Linked DNA regions of Homo sapiens: region 2 is linked to region 1. The links are contacts of gene promoters, found by promoter capture Hi-C in blood cells and fetal thymus (Javierre and others, 2016). All regions are on one chromosome and are shown on one strand. The core of a region is centred on a gene start or on the middle of the fragment in contact, and the rest is flanking DNA. Distances in the headings are between cores, read along the strand shown.

The links. The method cuts DNA at HindIII sites, captures the fragments that hold promoters and counts their contacts. A CHiCAGO score of 5 or more calls a contact.
Region 2: a contact is called between a fragment that was not itself captured here and the fragment with the promoter of LINC02860 in region 1, in 3 of 17 cell types (megakaryocytes, erythroblasts and endothelial precursors). The highest score is 7.8, in megakaryocytes.

What each region holds. Positions count from the first base shown.
Region 1 is chr7:26,634,201-26,641,495 of GRCh38, reverse strand. It overlaps LINC02860 (long intergenic non-protein coding RNA 2860), which reads right to left and starts at 3,625. Exons shown (of 4, transcript NR_161202.1): 1 at 3,560-3,625; 2 at 2,152-3,001; 3 at 732-796. The HindIII fragment of the contact is 19,305 bases long and covers 1-7,295 here.
Region 2 is chr7:26,370,250-26,377,544 of GRCh38, reverse strand. It overlaps SNX10 (sorting nexin 10), which reads right to left. Exons shown (of 7, transcript NM_013322.3): 6 at 5,512-5,724; 7 at 3,162-5,054. The coding sequence ends at 4,973. SNX10-AS1 (SNX10 antisense RNA 1) reads left to right here. Exons shown (of 2, transcript NR_136272.1): 2 at 4,977-5,526. Among named protein-coding and RNA genes, the nearest start is that of LINC02981, 25 kb to the left of the region's middle. RefSeq lists a silencer at 656-865. The HindIII fragment of the contact is 1,856 bases long and covers 2,941-4,796 here.

The sequences.
Region 1 (7,295 bases), core at 2,376-4,875:
GGGTTTCACCATGTTGACCAGGCTAGTCTCCTGACCTCAAGTGATCCACTCGCCTCAGCCTTCCAAAGTGCTGGGCTTACAGGCGTGAGCCACTGTGCCCGGCCTTTTTAATATTCTTGATCTGCATTTGGTTGAATCCATGGATACAGAACCCACAGATATCCAGAGGCTGACTGTACCTACAATGGAATATGATTCAGCCTTCAGAAGGAGGGAATTTGAACCCATGCTACACCATGGATGACCTTGAAGACATTATACTAAGTGAAATAAGCCACTCACAAAAGGACAAATACTGCATGACTCCATGTACACGACATCCTGCAGTAGTTAAATTCATGAAGACAGAAAGTAGAATAGTGATTGGCAGGGGCTGTGGGAGGGAGGAATGGGGAGTTGTTTAATGGGGACGGAGTTTCAGTTTTTCATGTTAGAAGTGTTCTGGGGATGGATGGTGGTGATGGTTGCACAACAATATGAATGTACCTAATGCTGCTGACTGTACTTAACAGTGGTTAAGATGGTAAACTTGATGTTATGTGTATTTTACCACAATTAAAAATAATTTTTATAAAGCACAGGATACCAGGGGTTCCTAATCTGGAGTTTGTGCACCTAGAATGAACTCACCTGGGTTCATGAATTTCCTAAAATTGCATGAAAAAACATGTTTGAGATATTTCTTCTCCTTAATAGTATCTACATGAAAAACTGTCCAGAAAATAACTTACCTTTTCATCATAGGAATAATTGAACTGTATCCTAGCTCATGATTTATACCCATTTCACTCAGATTCTGGCTGTGGAAACAACACAAATGAGAATCAACAGTACTTAGGGAACAACTGGGTACTGGATGGGACAGTGCGGAGCGGTGAGAGAGGGGCAGGAGGCAGCTATCTTAACCAGCCCAGGAGAGTGGGGAGATGACAGGACCGGGAACAGAAAATATATCTAATGTACATTGCATACATGGAACTTGTAGATGTAGCATTCGTGGTGGCCTTGACTATTTGGGGTGACCTCAAATGTCACAGCATGGGTCCTTTTTTAAAGTGGAAAACAATGCCTTCCTAACACTCTTGGGAGGCTGAAACAAGCTATGGCGTGCAGAGCACTATGTGCATGTGACCTGTGGTGCCGGCAGGCCACTGGGCAGCCCGTGTGCCTGCTGTGGATGGGTCTGTAGACGGCCCTCAAAAGCCATGTTTCCACTGTTACTATTGCGATTTGGGGAATTAATGAAGGTCTTGGGAAGCGTGCCTCACGACGCCAAGGACTCACTCCAAGCGCGAACACACACGTGTGTGTGTGTGTATGTGAATATGTATGTGTGTGTGGTGTATGAGTGTGGTGTGTGTATATGCATGCAATGTGGTGTGTATGTGTGTGGTGTGTGTGGGGTGTGAATATGCTTCTATGTGTGTGTATGTTTTGTGCGATGTGTGTGGTGGGTGCCTATGTGTGATATGTATGTGTTGTGTGTGTGATATGTATGTGTGTGGATGTATGTGTGTGGTGTATACTTGTGTGTGGTGTGTATTTGTGGTGTGTGTATATGTGTGTGGTGTGTGTATATGTGTGTATGTGTATGTGTGTAGTGTGTGTATATGTGTGTATGTGTATGTGTGGTGTGTATGTGTGTACGTATGTGTGGCAGGTGTGTGTGTGCTTGTGTATGAAGCGTGTGTGGTAGGTGTGTGTGTTTGTGTATGATATGTGCATGTGGTGTGTCTGTGTATGACGTGTGTGGTCTGTGTGTGTCTGTGTTTGTGTATGATGTGCGCATGTGTCTGTTTGTGGTGGGTGTGTGTGGGTGTGTGCTTATGTCTGTGTGTGTCTGTGTTTGTGGTGTGTGTGGGGGGGGATGTATGTGCACATGTGTGTTTGTGTCAGCCAGCCCTGGCTCGCACAGGCAGAGCAGACCACCTCCACAGTGTGACCTGAGGAGCAGTGGCCCTCAAACACCTTTCCCACCATGTGTCATGACACTGCCAACTCCTCCATTAATTTCTCTAAATCAAGGCAGTGATTCCATTTCCTAGGAACTCTCTCAATTACATTTCAAATACCCCTGTATCCATTTGCTAGGGCTGCCATAACAAAATACCACGGACCAGGGCCTTAAACAACAGGCATTTATTGTCTTACAGTTCTGGAGGCTGGAAGTCCAAGATCAAGGCGTAGGCAGGGTTGGCTTCCCCGAGGCCCCTCTCCCTGGCTTGCAGGTAGCCGCCTTGTCTCTGTGTCCTCATGTGTCTTGTCTCTGAGTGTGCACATCTCTGGTGTCTCTTCCTCTTCTTAAAAGGACACCAGTCAGATTGGGTTAGGGCCCATCCACAGGACCCCATTTTAACTTAATCACTTATTCACAGGTCCTATCCAGAGTTAGATTCTGAGGCGCTGGGGGTTAGGGAAGCAGCATAGAAATTTTGGGGAAAAGCAATTCAGCCCATAGCAGCCCTGAGAGAGGTAACACACTAGACTGCTTCGGGGTCACAGGAATGACATTTGCGGCTCCCTTGCTGCACATCTGCTGCTTGAGGGTGGGTCTTTAGGGGATAGTGGGGCTTTTGATAGATGGCCGACCTGGGGCAGGGCAATTCCGGAGCAGAGGGCTCTGACTCCCTGTGAAGGAAGGACCCTGGCTGGAGGATCCCCACCTATGCTCCAAGGTGGTAGCCCTGGGCCTATGAGGGGACCATCACGATGTGGGAATGGGATGCAGGGAGTGGAGCTGAAAGCCCACCAGAGACAAACCCGACTAACTACCCTTCAGTTTTGCCCAAGACGCTGTTCACTTCAACTCATCCATTCATGGAAGTAACTTTCCTGCCAAGCTCTCTTCCTCTGGTGATGGTGGAGATTCTATACACTTTCTTCATGGTCTCTCAGCCAGCGGCAGCTTCTGGGCCCACCTTGCTTCACTCCCCATCCATACCCAGCAGGGGCTTCCTAAGGAACTGTATTAGTCGGTTCTCACACTGCTATAAGGACATACCTACGATTGGGTAATTTATAAAGAAAAAGATTTAATTGACTCACAGTTCCGCAGGGCTGGGGAGGCCTCAGGAAATTTATAATCATGGCGGAAGGAGAAGAAAACACTTCCTTTGCGACGTGGCAGCAGCGAGAAGTGCAGAGGGAAGGAGGGGAAAGCCTCTATAAAACCATCAGATCTCGTGAGAACTCACTTGCTATCACGAGAACCGCATGAGGGTAACCGCCCCCTTGATTCAACTACCTCCCTCCGGGTCCTTCCCAGGACACATAGGGATAATGGGAACTGCAATTCAGCATGAGATTTGAGTGCGGACACAGCCAAACCGTATCAGGAACTTATGTGATTAAGCAGTACATTTGAAGAGGAAATGGTTGAGCCGTTGTTATAAGATGCTTCCCAGAGCTTTGCGGTGTCCAGCATTCTGACATCAACGTAGGGTTTCTATCAAGTAGTTGGGCTGTCAGTCTACCACCAGCAAATAAACCTGACCCTCTAAAGGCTGATAGAAAGAAACATCCCATAAGGGGTAGCTCTTCCCTTTACATTACCACCTACCTCAACAATGAGGTCAGCGGGATAGAGCAGAAATTGCACTGGGCTGGAAACCGAGATCCTACTGCTGATTTTGTCTCCAAGTGACTTTGTGACCTCATATAAGTCATTTAACCTTCGTGGGCCTCTTTCCTCGTGAAGGAAATGATGAAAGTGAGTGTTGGAACAATCTGTGATACTCAGCGGCAGGAAAGCTCACCCAGAAGGCTGAAATCTGCATACATAAATAACTCGAAAACAAAGCCATGCTTGGTCCTTTTTTATTTAGTTCAATCAACATATCTCATCTAATGTTAAAAGAAAGGACATAGGATTTTTTTAAAGAAATTTTTGTTTTGAACTAATTTTAGACTTACAGAAAAGTGGCAAAAGTAATATATACTTTCCTTATATCTCTTCTATCATTTCCCCTGATATCACCATCTTATATAACCATAGTACAACTATTAAGAACTGGAAATTAACATCGGCACAATGTAACTAACTGAACTACAGTCCTATTTGAAACTCACAATTTTTTTCCACTAATGTCCTTTTTTTCTGCTCAGGATCTAATCTAAGATCCTAAATTGCATTTAGCTGTATTTCTCCTTCTTCTCCTCCACTGGGTAACGGTTCCATGGTCTCTCCTTTACTTTCATGACCCTGACACTTTGGAAGAAAATGGATCGGTTCCACAGGAGAATATCCCTCAGTTTGGGTTTGTTTGTGCATTCTCATGAGTGGGGTAAGGTTATGCCTTTTTGGTGAGAATACACAAAAATCATGGCACATCTTCCTCAGTGCATCATTCAAGGGGTTCATGAGAGCCACATCTTATAACTGGTGACATTGATCTTGGTCACTTGATTAAGGTGGTGTCTGCTGGGTTTCTCACTGTCAAGTTATTATCTTTCCCTTTGCAGTGGATAAGTATCTAGGCTGACGCTTTGAGACTAGGCATGGCCTGTTTGTCCTCCAGCTTTCACTCACCAGTGCTAGCATCCCTCAGCAGATCTTGTCTGCAGTGCTCACTCTGTGGAGTCCTGTCCTCTTCCCTTCTACATGTATTCATTGGCGTTCCACTGTGCAGAAGCGCTGTCTTTTCTCCTTCATTATTTATGTGGTTTTTGTTTGTTTATTCATATCAGTGTGGATGTTTAATTATTGTATTTGTGGATGTTTTTAGTCTAGCTTAAAATGTAACGCTATCTTTATCTTGCTGCTCAGATCGTCTCAGCTCTTCGCTCTTTCACATTGGTTCCCGAGCTCTTTTGACAGACTCTTATCTTTATTTTGAGCATTTTCTTATTTTCTGGCACCACAAGATGTTTCAGACTGACCTTGTGTTTTCCATGTCCTGGCTTGGGAATCAGCCACTTCTTCACGATTCCTGGTTCCTTTTACAGGAGAATGGTGTGGAGAGACCAAGATCTATGTTGTAGATGGGTCCATTGTTATTGGAATGGTATTGCTTTTAAGCCCTCAAAACAGAGGGCTAGGTATATATGTGTGCATGCTAAGCTGCACAAACATACCCATCTACCTCTGTCTTCTTCTCTCCTGCCCTCTTTAAAGATCTTGAGTTCATAGTGATACCCATGATTCTAAGCTATACCACAGGAAATCATTTTATACTTGTTTCTTCTCTTATTTGTGACATCTTTCTCCAACAGTGAAAACCCTGGCTCTCATCATATACAATATATTTACTTATTTGTTCAATTCCACTACCGTTGTCCCTTGGTATACACAGGGGTTTGGTTCCAGGACCCCCTCACCCATGCCAAAGTTCGTGCATACTCAAGTTCCGAAGTCAGACCTGGGCAACATGAGTAGAGGAAAAGTCTGCCCTCCGCCTCTGCAGGTTTCAAATCCCTCGAATACCGTAAACCACGCCTGGTTGAAAAAAGCCCATGTATAAGTGGACCCTCGCAGTTCAAACCTGCATTGTTCAAGGGTCAACTGTATCTATATAAAGTAGTTTTGAACGGCTAGCTCATACTGCCATGAGAAATGCTTTTACTAACTGATCACAGCGTTTATGCACAGTTCCATGCCCTTGGCTTTTCAGCATCCAGCGGAATACTGTTTTCCACAGTGGTTTAGATTAGTTATTTTCTTCCCTGTTCCTTGAATGTGGTTACCTTATTTATTTGCAGTAGAGTTAGACTCCTTTATTAGTGTTTATTATATTCCATTTTGGGTTCCCTCCACATCCCAGTTGCTTTTAATTATTTGTTTAGTTTGGGTGTTATGTAAATAATTACTATGGTCAAAGAGTCAGATCTGTACAAAAAGCTGTATACAGAGAAGGATCTTTCCCTCCTCAACCCTCCCCTTTCCCACTCACCCCCTGTAGGTAGCCAACATCTTTAGTTTCTGGTTTATGTTCCTGTATTTGTTTTTCCTTTCTTTTCTCTTTTTTTTTTTTTTTTTTTTTTTTGTTTTTTGAGGTGGAGTCTCACTCTGTCACCAGGCTGGAATGCAATGATGGGATCTTGGCTTGCTGCAGCCTCAACCTCCTGGGCTCAAGTGATCCTCCTACCTCAGCCTCCCGAGTAGCTGGGACTACAGGCATGCACCACCATGCCCATGCCCAGCTAAATTTTTTTTTTTAATAGACTGGGTCTCACTATGTTGCCCAGGCTGGTCCTGAACTCCTGGACTCAAGTGATCCGCCCACCTCGGCCTCCAAAACTGTTGAGATTTCAGGCATGAACCCTGCGCCCAGCCACTTATATTTCTTTATACAAGGGAGCAGATAGCTGGGTATTTTCTTATTTCCCCTTCTTTATTACATGAAGAGTAGCATGCTATAAATACTGTTTTGGATTTTGCTTTTTTTCACTGAACAATAGGATATGAGATCTTTTTTTTTTTTTCAAAATAAGTCATGAATTTCAAAAGTCTGAGGAATGCTATGCAAACTGGATCATCTCTAACCATTTAAAAGTAGAAGATTCTAAATGGGGCACTAGAATGGTCTACTAGTTTAGAAAACTAGTCTAGAAAGACTGAAGGGTCCTTGCTTTCCAAGATCTTCCAAGGAAACTAAAGAGACAAAATGGGCATGCATAGAAAAAATTATGTCAATCTTCCGAGAAGAATCGCATCTTCCTGATAGGCAGGAAAAAAGATATCAGACAGTGACAACTTTGTCAAAGAAATGCCAGGTGGAAAGAGAGCAAAGCAATAATGATATGAGGCAGTGCAAAGCTCTTGAATTTCAAGAGACCCATAAGTTCAGCTGAGCTTCTGGCTTGTTGCAGGTCATATTGTCACGTAACTTTCTTTAGTGCACTTTCTGTATGGGTCCCTTTTGTCAATGTCTCCCAGACTTCAGCGTACACACAAATTACCTGCAGGCAGGCAGATCTTGTTTTTTGTTTTTTCAAATATGAGTATGAAATGTCCCATTTTCTTCCGCCTTTATTTATCAGTCACTCTCCTCTCGGCTGTGATTTTTTTCTAAAAATGAATGAACTGCCCATCACCGGAGCCTGAGCTCTGTTGGTGACACAGAAGTCAAGAAGGCATGGTCCTTGCCTTCGGGAAGGAATAGTATGAGACAGTAGTACAAGGGAGAGAAGACGATGCACAAACATGGACACTCAGACGTGGGAGAGTCTGTCTGGCCATGGGGGATAGCAGACAGCTGTAACTTGTTCCAAAAAAGAATAATTAATAATGATACAGTTCTAGGGAGACTAAAGGAATTGTTTCATTCTTCAAGATGAAAAATCGATTTCTTAACAAA
Region 2 (7,295 bases), core at 2,619-5,118, 260 kb after region 1:
GCCTGGAATCACAGCTAGTTAAAACTCGACCTGGATGTGTGACCTCCAGATTCCTAGCGTGGTCCCTCCACCCCATTACATGTCTCTGGACTTGTATGCACGTAGCTGCTGGGTACCGAATGAGACCGGTTCTGGTTGTGTTTCCTGAACCATCTTATTGCAGGCTAGGGGTTCTGCGAATACACGAGCGACCAAATGATGCTCTTAAGTACAACCGACACCTACGTAGGGAACAGGTTCTTTCTACTTGGGAGCCCTAACACCACTCCACTACGCGGGCAGCTCGCCAGACCCAACCAAGGGCGCGTTCTGCAGTGGGCGGCTGCAGCCTCCGCACTGGCCCGGCAGCGCCCCCTTCTGTCCTCCGGCGGCCTGGCACCTGATGTGTCACAGGCCGCGCGCTTTTTCCGGGTACTAGAACACAGTCCCGCTTACAGGGCCTCAGCCTAAAGCGGGTGGAAAACTTGTATCACCCCCCTACACACACACACACACACACACACACACACACACACACACACACACAGCCCAGTCCTACCACCAGGCGCGACCGTCCCCTCCCTCTCCAGACGGAAGGGGCCAGGTTAACGCAGCCGCGCGCCCGCCGGGCAGGTTAGGTTCTCGGGGGCCTAGAAGGGAAAGGGGTTAACTAATGTGTGCGATGCGTGTGCAGATGACAAAATTTAGGGCACGTAGAGTTTGCCCGGCCCCACCGCGTCCGCTCGCGGGGACCCTCGGGGGCCGGGCCCCATGGGGCCGGGGCAGCACGGTGTAGCCCCTCCTCCGGCCGGGCGCGAGCGTCTGCAGAACAAAGCCTGGAGTCCAGCCCCGGCCCCGGCGCGGCCGCCCCTCAACCAACCCCCAGGCGGCAAGGCCCTCTCCACGCGCGCTCTCCAGCCTGGCGGGGCCCTGGAAGCCGGGACACGCGGAGGCCGGGAGGGTCATCGGCGTTTAAGGCAGCCTCCCACACCAAGTGCACCGCCCGGATCCCCTCTGCACGAGGGCTTTCTGCTTATTGCTCTTTTCCCCAGCAGCCAGAATCGTCACCGTAGCGCGGGAAGGGGCCTCGCGGGCCGTCTGCAGCAGGTGCGGCCGGGAGCCGCAGGCCCGCGCGGTAAATCGCTGTCTCTTTGCGGTCGTTGTTCCCATTCACCGCCCGCCGCCCCCCGCCCCACCACGGTTCTTTTTTTTCTTTCCGCCGCGCAGTTGCCATGGGTTACCAGGGCGGTTGCCATGGGTTACCGGACCGAGGCCGGCTGGCTCGCTACCTGCAGCCCAGTCGCCGCCGCCAGCGGAGCGGCCCGGGCGGGACGCGGCGGGAGCGCGCGTGTGCGGGACGCAGCGCGGGGGATGCGCGCGGGCCGCGGAGGCGCCGCAACCAACAGGCGGCCGAGGGTGCAGCCGCGGGAGCGCCACCGCCAGTGGGGTGGGGGGCAAAGCTATAAAGAAGGCCCAGAGGTAAGAAACTAGCAAAAACACAACCACAAGTTATGCCCGTGCTGTGCCTCTAGCAGCAAAGACAAGCGGTGTGGGGTTGGATGAATCTACACTTCTCGTCGGGGGAGAAAGGGTATTTTCCTCTTTAGCATAAGCCATTTACATAGTGTCTTTAGACCAGAGTTTAAATTCAGCAGGAAATTGTAGCTTAATGGTTTTTTTTCTCTTTTCCTCTATATCTTTTGAAAAGAAGTCTTTGGAATTTTGGAGAAAGAGAAAGGGTCATTAACTACCAGAGTTTGCGCAGCTAAAATAAATTAGTGTCCAATGCACTGCTCATGATCTAGAAAAGTTTGCAGTAGGAGTGAAGCGCAATTGTGTCTGCTAAAAAGGGACAATGGTGACTCGTTTGTAAGATGCATATGGCAAAGAATAGAACCAAAGTCCTTTGTATATATAGCAAATGTTAAAGAAATTGTTGCTTATTTACATCCTTCTGAAATTTTTGAACTCCACTCTATTAAAATTATTAATTTCTTATGACCTTTATTTGCAAAGAAAATTCTATGCTTTGAATGTCAAATTGCAGTAACTAATTTCAGACAGTATTTTGTATTTGAAAATGTGTTTATATATAATAAACTAAGAAAAGGTCTATATTCCAAACAAAAACACAAAATTGTACTGAAATTGTTTCCTTCATTGAAAAGATGTTGCCTTGTATTCACAGGATACCAGCTAAGTAATTTAAATATTAAGAGGAAGACTATTTAGAAACAGAATAAGCTTTGTTATTTTCGTTTAAAATGTTAAGGGGCCTCTAATGAAAAGGGGTTGTCTTTTATAGCTCAAATACTGAAAACCTTATTGGTATCACAGTAGCTCAATAATAATGAATCCTTAAGGCATCCAACAAATACAAACCAAATTCAAAACAACGTCCAGTTTACTGTTGGATATAACGGTTATTGTGGCCAGGCTAAATGAAGTTGTTTAACTTCTTAATTGTCATAAAAGAAACTTTGTTCTTTTACTTTATACTGCATATCACTTGTTTGTATTTAATTATTCAATAAAATGTGGACTAGGTTTGAAAAACTGGCAAGATACTTCATATCTTAAGGAATAGTATCTGCTTAAAAATAAATACTTGTTTGTCCCTAGTAATTTTTAAAACTTGAAATTTTAACTAGAATTAAGTAACTTTCTTCTAAGTGAGACTTTATAAGAAGCCGAAGTAACAGGTTGTTGACGTTCAGTGCTGTTGACACCTTTGGGTTATATATAAATCTAGTTCTACAACAAAACACGTAAGTTGGCTTTATAGGTGAATAGTTTACCCTTTAAGAATCAGCCAGGGAAAATGCAGTTTTGCTGTATTGTAATCATAAAGAATCCAGGATTAGAATTCTTTACATTTAAGTCACATTAAAAATAGTGTTAAATAAACATCTATTCAAGTTAGCTACATCAGTAATTATTTTCTTTTTCCTAAAGAAAGCTTTATAAAAAATATGCCAGAGAAAAATAAGAGACAAAGCAAGAAAACCACTGGGAACTGAAGTTCATCTAAATATCTCAGCTGCAAGAAATCAGTTTTAAGAAGCCAGTGTGTGGACATTGAAACAACTAAACCAAGGCTAAAAGCCTCAAATATGTACAACTATAGCTAATATTAAACCATGTTTTACCAAATTTCCTCATAAAAAATAAAAAACACTGAGTTTGGGTCTAAGGCAGAATATATTCTCTTGTATAAAATAAGTGATCCGGCAAAGTTGATTTTTTTTCACGTTTAATGTAAAAATGATCTCGTGACATTTACATACTAAGTATTAGGCATTACATAATATTAATTTTGATGGCTATGTTACATCATCTAAAAATAATATGACAATTGGTGGCATAGTATGTGTTTTTCAAAACTGCTGTAAAACAGAAATAGTGTGAACTCAAATACATATTGCTGAAGGGATGAGGATCGCTCTTAAATGCCTGGATGGCATGAACTTTACATATTAGCATGGTAAGAAATTACTAAATCTTTTCTTTTCCTGTATTAAAATAATGAGGATCTAAGACACATTAAATCAAAATATTTACAAAAATTTAATAATGTTTTAGACCAAAGAAAAAAAGGACAAATTAAAGAAATCATTCTTATTCTAAATTTAATTTTTTTAATGTTAGTTCTCAGTTTTCTTAGCTTTTTTTTCTGTTGGTTCTTTGAAACAAGCATTGTAAAGACTTTTTAATAATACAATAGCTTTTAAACTCTTAGTGAAAATGAAAAGGTTGCTTTTTGTAGTAGCCTCTGCCACTCTTCAATTAGGCTGGGTAACAAAGCAACAAGTTATCCTAGTTATCTGAAAATATCTTCCTGTTAGTTTCACAGAAATATTTTGTACCATTCAACATGGATGAAACTTGGGTAATTATCTCAAGAAAATGTTGCCTCATCTGAAATCTGAACTTCAAAATAGTTTATCTAAGATATCTTTGGGACACTAAAAAAAAAGACATTTTATGAAAATTATACCAATCTTCAAGTAGATGCTTTAAAAGGGGCTTTTTAAAAATGAATAATTATTTCTGAAATTAGCAAGTCGACATCCTTTTCTAAATTATGGGAATATTTATTGGTAAAATTAAATTTATTAATCTTTATAAAATCCTTCCTCTGATTTAAGTAATAAGTAACCACCACTGATACTGAAAGTTATCTAGTGATAAGAAATTGCACATTTAGTCAAAAAATAAATCATTAACCTGATTATACAATGATAATGAAAACAAATTATTTGTCTCCAGAAACCATTTGTTGAAGCTGATTTTGGATAATGAAAATGTATTTCTGAATCTATATATTACAGTTATAAGTAATATTACTAGCACTATCTATGTTTTTTCTAAGATGTAAACATTATTTTAATATGTCTCTATTCATAAGATACATTTCCATCTAAGCGTGAAACAGAATACTGGAAAGGTTAAATACTCTTAAAATATTTCAGTCTAACACCCAAAAGCATAGTGTTTTGCCAGTGCAGGGGAGGTATCCACAAAATATCAGGCACATATCTGAGAGAGGCAGTCTGGTCTACACTGTTACTCTTCATAGGGTTTAACAACATATACACCGTGTTTATGGTAACACTGCCCCACTGATACAAGAAGGAATGCTCTATCTTGATTTTAAATGCTACTTAGTTACCTATCTTTTTAAATTCAATAAAACCAACTCGGTTTTTTAAAACATGTAAGTCATTTCATTGGAGGGCAAGATCTTGTTTACCAATAATGTCTGCCTGTAAAGGATAGTATTGTATTCACAGGATTTTTAGCTTTACACAGAAGCTTACCTAAAATAAGACAACATAAAAATACCACTAATAAACAACCCAACATCTTTAAGAATTTAAATACCTAACATCATGACAGTGAGCTTTAGGTAAGAATGTATTATTATGAAGCTTTCTTCTCTATGACTGGACATAATTTGCTATTCCTAAGATAGTAACATTAGAATTATTTTTCAGGATTCCTGCGGAGCTGTATTTACTTTACATCCATGTGAACTGCTGTCATCACTACTGTGTCCAAGCCCAGAGGATGAACTGGAAAAGAAGAGAGGGGGAAAATAATAAAAAGAGGAAATTGGTTTTCACAACACACTCAAAGCCTGAGTAACAGAGGAGAACTTTAATTATCTCCAGTCACAAAGAGAGACAGGAAATTTGGACTTTTAATTAGCCATTTGGAGTGCAGTTGGGTATTTTTTTAGCTAGATAATTTAAACGCGAATAATTCAAGTCTGACTAAATGAAAGTCACATAATCAGAATGCAAATAATTGAATTTCTACTGCATTCATTAATTCAGTGTGGAGGTGTGTGTGAAGACTACTATGATGAGCTGTCACAGCTCAATAAAATCTCAGTCAATTAATTTTTTCATTATCTTAGTATTATATCAACAAAAAAGTGAAGTGTGTATATATATCTATACACGTGCATATGTGCATACTATGTATTATATAAATACATATACATTAAATCAAAATGCAAGGAAATACCTTTCTGAATCATAATCTATATCATTTTCTTTTTTTCCTTCTTCATCTTCTTCAGGGAAACGTCTATTCATTAAGGCAAACTTGTGAATTGCTTCTTCCACAGAGTACTTAGTCTGCCCAGAAACACACGCCTCAATGTCTTCTGAATTCAGATGGCTCTGTAAGAAGAGGTGAAGGCTGCTATCTGAAAGCAAAAGTGCATTCTGTAGGACTCTATATTAAAAAAAAAAGGAAAAATAATTGGTGAACAGGATGGTCAGTGATAGGGTAGAAGAAAGAAAAACATTAGAAAAGTACCACTGAAGGTAATTTCTCTACTGTGGTAAACTTTGTATCAATTATGGGCTCTGCCCATTAAGGGGAGGAAAGCATATGTTAACTTTTATTCAATTATTTGGAAATTTAGGTGGGTAAAAACATGAAGCTAATAGTTAAGAACATCTGTTAAAAGAATAACTTCAAGGACATTTCTTCAATTTACCCATCTCTTATTACCATGTGGATTAATTATGGAAATATTTTGCTTATATAGTCATAGAAAGTTATTCTACTTTAAAAAATTTACTGCCAACAGCATGTCAATTCAGTGATCTTTATGGGATAGGCTGTCATGAAACATCAAAACTTTCAACTACTATTAAAAATTATATGAAGAAAATACAATTCTCAGCATATTTTACATTTTAAAACTTTACAGTTATATACTTAAGGGCATGTTTACGACAGCTCATGAGAGAGATGGCTTTTTTTAATACTTAAGGTTAACTGTAAATTTCTCCAAAATCTTTAGGAGCACTGAATCTCTGTGTTGTCAAAATGAGCAACCAAATAAAATTGATCCCAGCCAACTTTACCATATATATAATTAAAATATGATAATTTTGTGATGAATACATACTGCTCTTCCCACATTTAAGATCAAAGTTTACAAAGACAGAACAGATTTCAACCAGGGCATCAGAACTACATGGAAGATTAAAAACTATCCTGTAGCAAAATCTACAGATGCTCAAATTCATATTAGTGAATGTGTTTTCTCTGAAATGCACATCTTAGAATATGAAATCAAATCAAAGTATACCTTTATATTTAAATAAAAACTGGTTTATCTTTTAGCAAAGATGTTGACATATGATCATTTAGTCTCTACTGATAGTTCAATAATTATGTAAGAGGAGACACTAAGACCAGATACAGGGGACAAAACTAACACACTAAAACCCAAGTAGAATTTTGTCCAACATAAGATTTTTCCGATATAACGATCTGTGAAAAATAGATCATGTATTTCAGACCAAATGAACCTTACCTTATATTCTGCTTGTTTAAACAAGTAATAAGGAAAGTAAATCTCTTTTGGCCATTAATATCAATTTAGTGAAAATCCAAGGTCATTATAATACCAAATCCTTTTCTACAAAATAAAACAATTATTTCTTAACAAAGGCAAAAATGCCTAAAAATGCACAGTATTAAAACCAAAATCTAGCTGTCCCCTTTGCTTCAGCAGGTTTACAGTTTGAGAAAATATTCTTTACTGGTCTATTAGAAGGAAAAGTAAAACCTTTGTGCTTTTTAAAAGGCAAAACCTCAAGCAAAGCAGCTAAATCCTTCTTTTTCCCTCTGTGTCCTCCGCCCTGGGTCCTCCCAAAAGATGACCATGTCACATGATAATGATTAATTTACCAAGTACAAGTAGCTAAGTAGTAAATCCCTCTTACTACTCTTTGAGATTTATTTTCTACATTTACAAATATTCACCATTCTTGTTTTTAAATACTTCA